3 separate regions of the Homo sapiens genome follow, and all the other regions are linked to region 1. Evidence: promoter capture Hi-C in human tissues and cell types (Jung and others, 2019). All regions are on one chromosome and are shown on one strand. The core of a region is centred on a gene start or on the middle of the fragment in contact, and the rest is flanking DNA. Distances in the headings are between cores, read along the strand shown.

Region 1 (3,896 bases), core at 1,298-3,797:
GGATAAAACCAGTCACTATCTTAGCAGGTGGAAAGTTTCATTTTCATTGACAATAGATGGACACATTATAGGACTGCTGTGCCTGTTATGTTTTGATGACCTCCAGAAAGGGGTTCTCTGTATCATGCCATCAGAAATTTCTATCTTAACAATAAACCATCCTTGTCTATCTGGTCAACTTTGCATTGAGAGTTGGTTGGATTCAACTGAATTATAAAAGTAAAATGCCTAGCAACTACCAATGCTATAAACCCCTTTGCTCATGATGGATCATTAGCAAAGTTATAAAAATCAACAATATGGCTATTTCATTTTAATCTGCAGCCGTTCAGATAAAAGGGATTTACTACAACAGCTTTCAAAAATTTTGTAAGAAGTGTACTAATGCGTTCCTGCTTATATTTCCATAAAATTTGAATAACAGTGTAGTTTAAGACAGATGTCAGCTTCTCTGAACAGAATCATATGTTGTCAGCACTATGCACCTATGCACTTACATTTAAGTAGCTGTAGATGAGGTTTCCTGCCTGTTTCAACTTGTTTCATTGGTGTATCCTTTTCCTTATGTAAACCCAGCCCCTGAAAACAGTGTGTCTGCTTTCATAAACTTAAACCAAATATAGTCAATAAACATGTTATAAAAACAATTGTTTCCCCCCAAGAAGTGAAGATAAGCTGATGTAAATTCACTTTATTTGGATTTCAATCCAGCTTTCTTCTTTGATTTCATATATTATAACATCAATATTCACTTTTCTGAAGGGCTCCTGGAACCAGAAGTGCACTTAACTCTTTCTGTGCTGGGGACATTTTGATATCTCTATTACTAATACCTAGAATCTCCAATGATAAATAAATACCTCTGGGATGGACTGGGGATACACTGCAATAATTGAAGCACTTTATCCTTCACCAAAAATGGTATCCGTGTTCCTGTGAGTAGCAGGGAGGTGGAACTCTCACCTGCTGAGTCCCGTTCTAATTTCATCCAATCTGGTGAACAAGTATCCAACCAAAGGTGGTACCTGCAGGCATGCCCATTGTCACAGTAATGCAACACTGTAAGTCCTTAGCACAATGTTAAAATTGGTTGGAACTGAGTTTCAAATGTTTTCCTCTCGCTACTGAGGTCTTCTACTTCTTTCTTTTTCTCTTTGTCTCTAATATCTTTTTCTTTTTGTTTTTCTTTTTCTTCTTCTTTTTTTTTTTTTTGAGTTGGAGTTTCGCTCTGTTGCCCAGGCTGGAGTGCAGTGGTACTATCTCAGCTCACTGGAGCCTCTGCCTCCCAGGTTCAAGCGATTCTAGTGTCTCAGCCTCCCGAGTAGTTGAGATTACAGGCGCCCGCCACCACACCCAGCTAATTTCGTATTTTTAGTAGAGACAGGGTTTCACCATGTTGGCCAGGCTGGTCTCGAACTCCTGACCTCAAGTGATCCGCCCTCTTCGGCCTCCCAAAGTGCTGGGATTACAGATGTGAGCCGCCATACCTGGCTAATATATTTTTCTTAACTGACTAGAGCACAGAACACAAATCGTGTGTTTGCACTTACAAATTTCTATGATCATTGTTCCTAGTTTAAAAACTTCATTAGCAAAGGGGTTTATATTTCTCTTTTCAGTAAGGACACGAAATTATGTTTCAACAATGCCCAGTCTCACCTAAAAAGCAAGTTTTCATTCTCTGTTTATGGTAGCCCACGACAAACCAAAAAGATCATTTTGGATGGTATCATTGTTAATCCTGCTAAATGATTCAATTTCCTGCTGAAAGCAACAAACTAATACTTATTTAGTACCTACTATTTATTATTTGCATACTAGGGTTTATACACAAGGCGTCCTATGAAAGAACATTTCATTCAAAAGTCACAACATATAGTCTTCAATTATCAGCTACCTTTATTTGTAAGCCAAAATAAATGATTTAATACAGTCCTCCCAAACTGGGAGACAATGCTTTGAGAAAGGCCAAAGCTAGCCAGTAAGGCCATAAGTTCCATGAGGGCAGGATCTACCCAGCTCCTGTTTCCTGCTCAATTCCAAGCAGTTAGAACAGGGTCAGTAAACACTGCTTGCCACTTGGAAAGAGTATTCTTTTATTTGGAAATGGTATCCAGGTACTCGTGAGTAGCAAAGTCAAGAGCAGGAAAGGGGAGTGGGGGAGGTTGCAAAATCGGAGCGAGCAGCAGGACCGAGAGGGATCCGGAGGAGAGAGCCTTCAGACGGTGAACCCCAAGAGCTGGGATGAAGCATGGGTGAGCTACTGGGACTTCGCTGCCAGGGAGCAAGCTGGCAGGCAGGAAGTAGCCAAGATTTGGGGGAATCCTTCCCAGGGAACGAATACAGAGAAGGACGCATCTGAAAATTCCGCCGCAGCCACCTCCCTCCCATGGGAAAGCCCCGACCTCGGCGGGCCCAGCGCCACCCGGCTCCCCGGGGTGTGGAACACTGAGCGAGGCAGGTGCGGCGGGAGCATGCGCGCGGGGCGGGCAGGGGGCGGCTCCCGCGCCCCCACCCCGCGCGTGCACCCTCGCGCCCCTCCCGCCGGGCACCGCGGGGCAGCGGCGCCGCAGCCTGGGCTGGCGGAACCTCGCGCTCCGACTCGCCCCCCGCCTGTAGCTCGGTCGGCGTTGCGGGCAGGCGCCGCTCCGCTGGGGGTAAGAAGGACGCCGCCGCCCGCGTGGGATGGTCGCGAGCCCGCGTGGGTGCCCACGGCCGCCGCCGCGCGGGGTGGCCCCATCCCCGGGCAGGTAGAGGGGCCTGCACGACTCCCGCGGCGAGGGCCGGGCCGGTGGGGGCGGTGGCGGTTGGGGATAGCCCCGGTCCCGGCCCAGGCTCTTTCTCTTTCTCTTTCGCCGCCGGGGCGCGCGCCGGGCTCCCCGCGAGAGGCGCTGCCTCACTTGTCGCCTACTTTGGACGGGCGCGGCCGCCGCAGAGCCCGGCGCCTCGGTCAGCCGCGAGGGCAGGGTCGGGGTGCCAGGCGCGGCTACCTGGGCGCCCTGGAGCCAGCGCAGCCTGGGACCGGGGGAGCGGGACGGGACGGGACTCCTGAGGGCCCCCAGGCAGTCCTCCGGCCATCGAGCGCCCGGCGGTGGGCATTTGGCTTTTGTTTCCTCTGGGGCTAACGCCCCCGTCTGCCCGCGTGTCCCCCTCAGCCGACAAGTGTCGTGTGCCCGGACGGGCGAGCGCTGCCTCCCTCCACCCGCTTTCTGCCCTTGTCTTCCTCTGCGAGTTCTGCCCAGCCTCGGGAGCGGGAGCCCAGGGAGTGCGCGCAGGGCGGGCGGGCGCCTGGCCAGCCTGGGACGGCGGCTCTCAGGCTCCTGCCACCGCCTGGAACTGCGGGGGGCGCGCCGGCCACAGTCGCCCTCGCCTGCTCTCCGGGCCTTCTTGGGCCCGCTTGGTCCCAGGTGGACGCGAGTCGAGCTGGGCACACCTGGGCCAGCGCCGCACTTACCTGCGGGATTGGTGAGAGCGTTTTCGCGAGGTCGCAAATTCCGGGTGGGTATTGTCCCCTGCTTTTGATCTCCCTTAGTCACTGGTTAAAGTGCGAAGTGTGCTTTATCTTACATATGCCTTTAGAGGGACATTCTTAATGCGCCAATGCCCCGAGGTGGAACTAAATAAAGGGAAGGCCTGGTCATTGTTACTGTTGAGACTGCTGTACTTAACAGTCAGAGGAAGGCAGCTGGTCACCACGACCCACTCGGCCATTCCCATGCTGAAGACTCGCTCTCACTTCACACTTGTTTGGACTCCACTATGACTTGCTGGTGGCCCATCTCCTGGATCCTTCTGTTGGAGCTGTTCTAGAAGATGCTTGTGGCAGGCTCCAGTTTCAGTCCTTGGCTGAAATAAGTGTAGTGTGGCTCTTCGGTTTTCTAATCTATTCCACCTAA
Region 2 (3,604 bases), core at 971-3,470, 410 kb after region 1:
TTTTTGTTGTGACAATTTGAAATTCCTTTTTCAGTTCTTTTTGTATATACTCTGTACTTATTTTCTTTGTGATGACCATGTACATTATACACTTAACACCCTAAAATTGTAGCTCTTTAATTTGAATTTCTACCCGTTTAATTTCAATAGCATACAAAAATTCCGCTCCTATATAGCTCCATTCTCACTACTTTTCAGTTACTTGTATCACAAATTACATCTTTATGTTTTACGTGTCCAAAAACATAGGCTAATAATTGTTTTTATGCATTAGTCTTTTAAATGATGTAGAAAATAAGAAGCAAAGTGACGAACCAAAATTACAGTAATACTGTTTTTTAAATATTTGTCTATGTATTTTTGTTTACCAGAGAACTTTATATTCTCATATGCCTTCAAATTAGTGTCTAGAGTCCTTCATTTCAACTTGAAGGACTCCCTTTAGCATTTCTTACAAGGCAGGTCTACTGAAAATGAATGCCTTCAACTTTTGTTTGTCTGGAAATTACTAAGTTTCTCTCAAATTTTGCAAGAGAGTTTGGCTTATATAGAATTCTAGGTTGATGATTTTATTTTTTTCTTTCAGCACTTTAAGTATATCATTCTACTGCATTCTGGCCAGCAAAGTTTTGGCTAAGAAATTCTTCGATAACTTTCTTGAAGATTCCTGTAATGATGAGTCACTTTTGTTCTGGTGCTTTCAGGATTCCTTCTTTGTATTTGGCTTTTGAAAGTTCGATTATAGTATGTCTCATTGTGGGTCTTCTTGAGGTTTACTTTACTTGGAGTTTGTTGAGCATCTTAGATTTGTAAATCTGTGACTTTCCTTAAATTTGGGAAGCTTTTAGCCATTGTTTCTCCAAATTGTCTCTGTGCTCTTTGCTCCCTCTCTTTTTTCCTTCAGAAACTCCTGCAATGTGTATATTGGTCTGCTTATGCTGTCCTACAGATCCCTTAGACTCTTCACTTTTCTTTAATCTTACTGCTTTATATTCCTCATACTCAATTTCAATTGTCTTATCTTCAAATTCACTAATTCTTACTTCTACTCAAATCTGCTTTAGTATCCCTCTAGTGAATTTTTCATTCTAGTTATTTTTCTGTTGATTTTTTTCCTTTGAGTGGGTCATACTTTCCTGTTTTCATATACCACGTATTTTTTTGTTGTTGAAACTGACCATTTGAATCTCATAATATAGTATCTCTATTAATCAGATTCCCCGCCTTCCCCAGGGTTTGCTGCTTCTGATTTTGGTTTTTGTTTGTTTGGGGTTTTTTAATTGTTTTATGGTAGCTCCATGCCAGACATCAGCATGAGGTGTAAACTTAAGGTCTTCTCAGGTCATTTCTGAGCCCACTGCTTTCCTTGGTCGTGCATGGTGACTTACTAAATTCCCTTGTATATGTTATTGCTTTTAAATGTGCTAATCCTTAAATGTTTGGCTCCCCAGAAGGGGAAAACTGGACGGAAATTTTTTTAAGGCAATTATCTTCACATACCCTGGAAGCCACTTTAGGCAATGGGGATTGCTATAAAGGCCTCTGGCCTGCACCTTCATAGTCAGTTATGAGGACACAGATCCTCAATATTTGGAGGACAAGGTACTTATTGCCCACCCTGGTTCTTGAAAGCCACATGCAAGTTGCACCCAGATTGTTGGCACAGCTGCCTGCCACAGGGCTGGAGGATGGGAAGTGAGTAGTTGCTACTGTTCTAAGAGCTGAAATTGACCAAAATTAGCCATGATTTACCACCATCTAAGCTGACCTCCGGAAGCTGCAAGACTCCAGAGATCCAAAATAGTTCTATCAGTCAGATTCTGCCAGTGCAATTGTTGTCTAGGCAGAGAGACAGATTCCTGGCACTTCCTACCCACCATCTTCCCTAACATCACTCCTGTCCTTTGTTTTTGAAAGTTTTGAGACAATATGTGATGCTTGACTGGATGCTGTAATGAGTGTTTATCTTTAAGCTCCAAAAACTTTACTAAGATAGGTCTTGTTATTGCATTCCAATTCACTGAATGTGGCACATGGTATGCCCTTATGATATATAGATTCAAGTACATTCACATATATAGATTTAGGAAAGGGTTGTTTTTATTATATATTTAAATATTTGCTCTGTTTCATTGTTTTGATTTTTCCTCAGACACACTAATTATGTATGTGTTGAATCACCTTCTCTAATGTTTTTTAAGTTCTTTTTAAATTTAAATTTCATTTTGCTTGACTTTCTCATTTTTATCTTTTATGAGTATAATCCTGACTCCGGGTTATGCAAGGTCCATTCTCCCTTTCTGCTCCTTCGAGTTCCATCTCTATTCCTGTAATGGTTTTATTTTTCTCCTCTACTTCTTTCTGGAGTTCTGCATTGCCTTTTATTGACTTGCTGTCTCTTCCTCGAATTGTCACATTTCTACTTTATTTTCTTCCTTCCTAGAGATAATTGCCTCACTAAGCTTTATTTTGTGTTTCCAAACATGTCAGAATGTCTGATCACTCTTTCATCTCCTCAGTGGCAATATTTTTATGGATACATTTTAAAAATTTAATAGATTTTACTGGTCTCATTCACATTTTTCTCATGGCATCTTTATAACAACACCATATCATTTTTTTTTCTTTTTCTTCTTTCTTTTTTCTGAGCTCACTCATTACTTAATGAGTTCAATTTTCCTGAACTAACTATTCACACACATCTATATTGACAGGAAATGAGGGCTAGGCTTTCCAACTAAAAGGTTTCTCTCTCTTGCCTGACACTGAGACAGAGTGCTTCCTGCAAACATGGCTCCTCTGGACTATTCTCTGTGTAGCCCTGAAAACTCTAACTCCTTGAACAAAACTAAGTCCAGTAGGGCTTCTTTTATACCAACCCTGCTCACCCAAGGTCCTGTCCCCATTTGTACAAGCAAGGAATGTGCCTTTGCATTCTGGCAGTGGCCACCCAGGAGATCGGCCACCACTCAGCCCTTCTTTTCTTCCCTTCCCCTGCATATCTTCTAGCCAATCACAGTTGCTTCTGGCCCTTTTTACAGATATATTGAATCTAGGGAATTTATCTGCCTTCTAGTTTCACTGAAAATGGAATTTATGGTGTTTCCTTTATTTTCTTCGTTGTTTGTTTTTGTATGATTCTAGGAGGATGAGGAGAAATGCTCACAGCCATATTCCTTGCTGATTAGCATGTTTAAAATGACTTTAATAGAAAAACATGTTCTTTTCTTTCATTCCATTCAACACATTTTTATGAAGCACAGCACACTCTGAGGAAGGTAGGGCGTGCTCAGAAGAAAGAGTGAGCCCTTCCTTGGTGGGGGCATAAAGGTGGAAACAGCTATTACAGTTACAGGGTAGCATAGGGTAAGTGCTGCTTTGCAACCTCAAACCAAGACATTTGGAAGAGGGAAACCAATTGATTCTCTTTGTGGGAATCAGACATTTTCAGGAGAAGATAGCATCTGAACTAGGCCATAAATAGTGGGTGGAATTTCAATAAATATAAATATGAGAAAAATGTTTCTGCTAGGCAGATTTGATAATCAAAAGCAGAGAACTAGGACAGCATCCTCAAGGCTCTGTGGCTATCTGGCTGCACTAC
Region 3 (3,654 bases), core at 855-3,354, 470 kb before region 1:
TCAAACCTGGACTACTATTTAGTCGCTGTGTGACCTGGGGCAGGTTATTTAATCCCTGTTGCATCTACTTTATTATCTGTAAAATAGGAATAGTCATTGTATCTACCTCACAGGCTGTTATGAGGATTAAATGAGTTAATACATGTAGAGTGTTTAAATCAGTACCTGTACATAGTTATCTTTCTACATATTTGCTCTTACTTTTATGATCTATGACACTTATTCTAGATCTTCCATGGACACTTAGGGAAGGTGATGACTGTAGTTGGATCTTTGGAGATTGTTGAGTATTTTCTTCCTCAGTAATGACACAAGATGGCGCCAGAGGGTTGGCATTTATACTCAGGGATTCCATCCACAGCTGGATAATCCACGACCAGCTGTGCTGAAAATTTAGAATACACCAGAGAATCTAGGCTTTCCTTTGTCCCTCTGTATTTTCTTCAAAATGGTGTCTTGGTGGGGAGTTCTTGGAGGAAAGCATTATGTTCTGGAATCTCTGGGGAGTTCTCAAGTTGAAGGAAAATCTATTTCTATTCAATGGCTGGAAGGCAGTCAGCTGCTGGTGAAGTTAACTGAGCTGTATAGCAGTGGAAACACTTGTGACAAGCTAGTAGGTTACTGGAGCTGTGCGTGCTAGAGTTCAGGAGTAGATGACAAGTGTATACAACCAAGCAATATGGGGAGAGAGGGAGGATCATATTGTTGAAGAAAAATCCATGTGTAGATTTGTGGATAACTTGTATCAAATTTATAATGACGCAGGTCCAGGATGTTACTGAAAAGAGCAAATACACATTGCTGTGAGCTTGCCTGAATAATAGAAACTTTAAGAGCAAGTCTCAGTGCAAAGCATTTAGGGGCAGACAAGACATAATGTTAGTGCATAAACTGCAGGCTGAGGACTGTCTCTAATCTTCCAACGCAATTAAAAAAAAAAAAAAACAACTCTGGGGAAGAAAAAAACAAGAGATGCAGATGTAGGCTTGGGACCACTGTGTTTCCATTAACTTCAGAGAAATTAAGAAGCTCTTTTAAGTTAAGTTTAATTTGGCAAATAATCCATTTTCATTTTACTTAGGAAACCTGGCCCAACGCTGTTTTGTGATTAATAGTTTTGTAGTTAATTCATTTAATACATCCCCGTCACAAGTATTCTCTTTCCTGAGGTCATTATTTCCCCAGAAAGTTATTAAGCATGTAATGAAAGCATCTGAGGCTTGATTGATGATGATACTAGTCCTTTAATTTTACGGTCAAGTTTGGGGCCAAGTTTGAAAAGAGAAAGTAACGACATTAGTGGAAAAGGCTCTGTGTTCTCTGAGCTCCATTTGAGGGTATTGAGAGGGACAGCTTAAACACACACACACACGCGCTTGTTCACAATCCTCCCCTTCAGAGAATCTTGTTACAACTAGAGCTTACTTAGGTGGCAAAAAGGCCATTATTTCCTGCTGGTAGCAGGCCAGAACTCTGGGTTTCCTGCAGGGTTCGCTGGTATCAAATCAACCACCTGCAATATAGTATTTTTCACTTTCAAAGTCATACGAAGGAATGTGGACTCTTTGTGAACCCTTTCAGGATATTTCTCAGAACCTCTCCCTTCAGTGAAATGTACTGGCTGTAGTCAGATAGGCAGTAATGATGATACAGCATGCAGTAAATGCTACACAGAAGATAATTGGTCTCTGAAAATTACAACGTCACACAGTGTTTCTGAAAATTACGAAGTCATACCGATTAGGTCTTTAGTGAAGTATTTGGGTAAAAGCACAAAAACTATAAAGTATGTTTTGTAACTGACAGTCAGGGAATCATTTGGCATGGTTTGAACACAAGGATTGAATATTTTGGAGGATGAAAATTAATATATTCATATACCCTTCTTAAATATGATTCTCTGAACAGATCTGGAATTAGAGGTTTGAATCCTCCTTGCATAATTCAAACTACCAAAAAACAAAAACAAATGAGTGATCCAGAGATGGAAGGTCCTAATTCTGGTATAAACTTCACCCAAATCTCTGGCTGACCCACAAACCATGCGTGTGTGGGGTAACACGGCGAAGGATTGAACAACTGAACACACAGTTGAGCTCCTGCCCAAAAGACCACTGGCAATTTGAGTCCAGTCAAGCAAACTGCCGGCTTAAAAGAGCAACAATAGTAAAAGAAACCAAACAACATTCTTTGGAGAAATACTTCAGAATCCATAGTCTCCAAAGACTATATTCATAATGTTCAGAATAAGCTTTAAATTTACTTGACATACAAAGTAACAAGGAAAGTGTAACCCATTCTCAAAGAAGACAGAGACCAACCCTGAGATAACCCAGGTGTTAGAACTGCCAACAAGGACTTTTTTTTCTTTTTTGAGACAGAGTCTTGCTCTGTCGCCCAGGCTGGAGTGCAGTGGCACGATCTCGGCTCACTATAAGCTCCACCGCCTGGGTTGACACCATTCTCCTGCCTCAGCATCCAGAGTAGTTGGGTCTACAGGTGCCCGCCACCACGCCTGGCCAATTTTTTGTATTTTTAGTAGAGACGGGGTTTCACCTTGTTAGCCAGGATAGTCTCGATCTCCTGAACTCGTGATCTGCCCACCTCAGCCTCCCAAAGTGCTGGGATTACAGGCGTGAGCCCCCACGCCTGGCCGCCAACAAGGATTTTGAAGCAGCTATTGTACCTGTGCTCAATGATGTGAAGGAAAATATGATTATAATGAATGAAAAGATAGGTCACCTCAACAGAAAAACAGAAAGTATTTTAAAAGCACCAACTGAAAATTCTAGAACTGAAAAAATACAATGTCTGAAACAAAAATGAATGAAGGAAATTAGTAGCTCTTCTCTCTTTTTCAGCAAGTTTTTCTCATTAAAAAAACCCAGTAAGCTTACAAAGAAAATAGATACTGGTCACGGACAGCATGTGAATTAAAGCTTAGAAAATGACTGCCTTGCCTACAATATTCTCTTCTTTCAAGACACAAAAGATTATTTTATGAATCTGGTTTAGTTAAAACATTCAAAGATTTAGAACCTACATAATTTTTAGGACAAATTTTGCCATACAACTTAGGATCTATTATTTTCTTTCATTGTAATTTTTATGAAATTGTAGTTCTGGCCAACCTGAGAAGGTTGTACAATGGCAGATACAGACATCACCTGTTAAGTTCACACAACATTTTAAAATTTAAATTAGTGGCTGGGCCAGGTGTGGTGGCTCACGCCTGTAATCCCAGCAATTTGGAGGGTGAGGCAGGGAGATCACTTGAGGCTAGGAGTTTGAGACCAGCCTGGCCAACATGGCGAAACCCCGTCTCTACTAAAAATACAAAAATCAGACAGGTGTGGTGGCGCACACCTGTAATCCCAGCTACTCAGGAGGCTGAGGCAGGAGAATCGCTTGAATCCCGGGGGTGGAGGTTGCTGTGAGCCAAGATCGCATCACTGAACTCCAGCCTGGGCAACAGTGCGACACTCTGTCTCAAAAAAAAAAAAAAAAATTAGTGCCTGACACTCTCAAATTGAGAGTTTTCGCATTAAAGCCTGGATTTGGCTCTCAGTCTGGCACAGCAACCATTACGGAGAACCAAGCAGTGGTCAATGTCTCTAGATGGGGTGTGTCCTCTCAGTTTGGACACAGACCTTT

The links. Contacts are between HindIII fragments. The study calls those that stand out against the background at their distance.
Region 2: a fragment that was not itself captured here is called in contact with the fragment with the promoter of L3MBTL4 in region 1 in 1 of the 25 tissues and cell types used here (lymphoblastoid cells).
Region 3: a contact is called between a fragment that was not itself captured here and the fragment with the promoter of L3MBTL4 in region 1, in 1 of the 25 tissues and cell types used here (dorsolateral prefrontal cortex).

Annotation. Positions count from the first base shown.
Region 1 is chr18:6,413,562-6,417,457 of GRCh38, reverse strand. It overlaps L3MBTL4 (L3MBTL histone methyl-lysine binding protein 4), which reads left to right and starts at 2,547. Exons shown (of 19, transcript NM_001330559.2): 1 at 2,547-2,657. RefSeq lists a silencer at 2,505-3,044. The HindIII fragment of the contact is 7,728 bases long and covers 1-3,896 here.
Region 2 is chr18:5,999,134-6,002,737 of GRCh38, reverse strand. The region is part of intron 16 of L3MBTL4 (L3MBTL histone methyl-lysine binding protein 4); the gene reads left to right. Among named protein-coding and RNA genes, the nearest start is that of TMEM200C, 110 kb to the right of the region's middle. The HindIII fragment of the contact is 4,141 bases long and covers 150-3,604 here.
Region 3 is chr18:6,883,094-6,886,747 of GRCh38, reverse strand. All of the region lies in intron 11 of ARHGAP28 (Rho GTPase activating protein 28), which reads right to left. Among named protein-coding and RNA genes, the nearest start is that of LINC00668, 45 kb to the left of the region's middle. The HindIII fragment of the contact is 4,461 bases long and covers 1-3,654 here.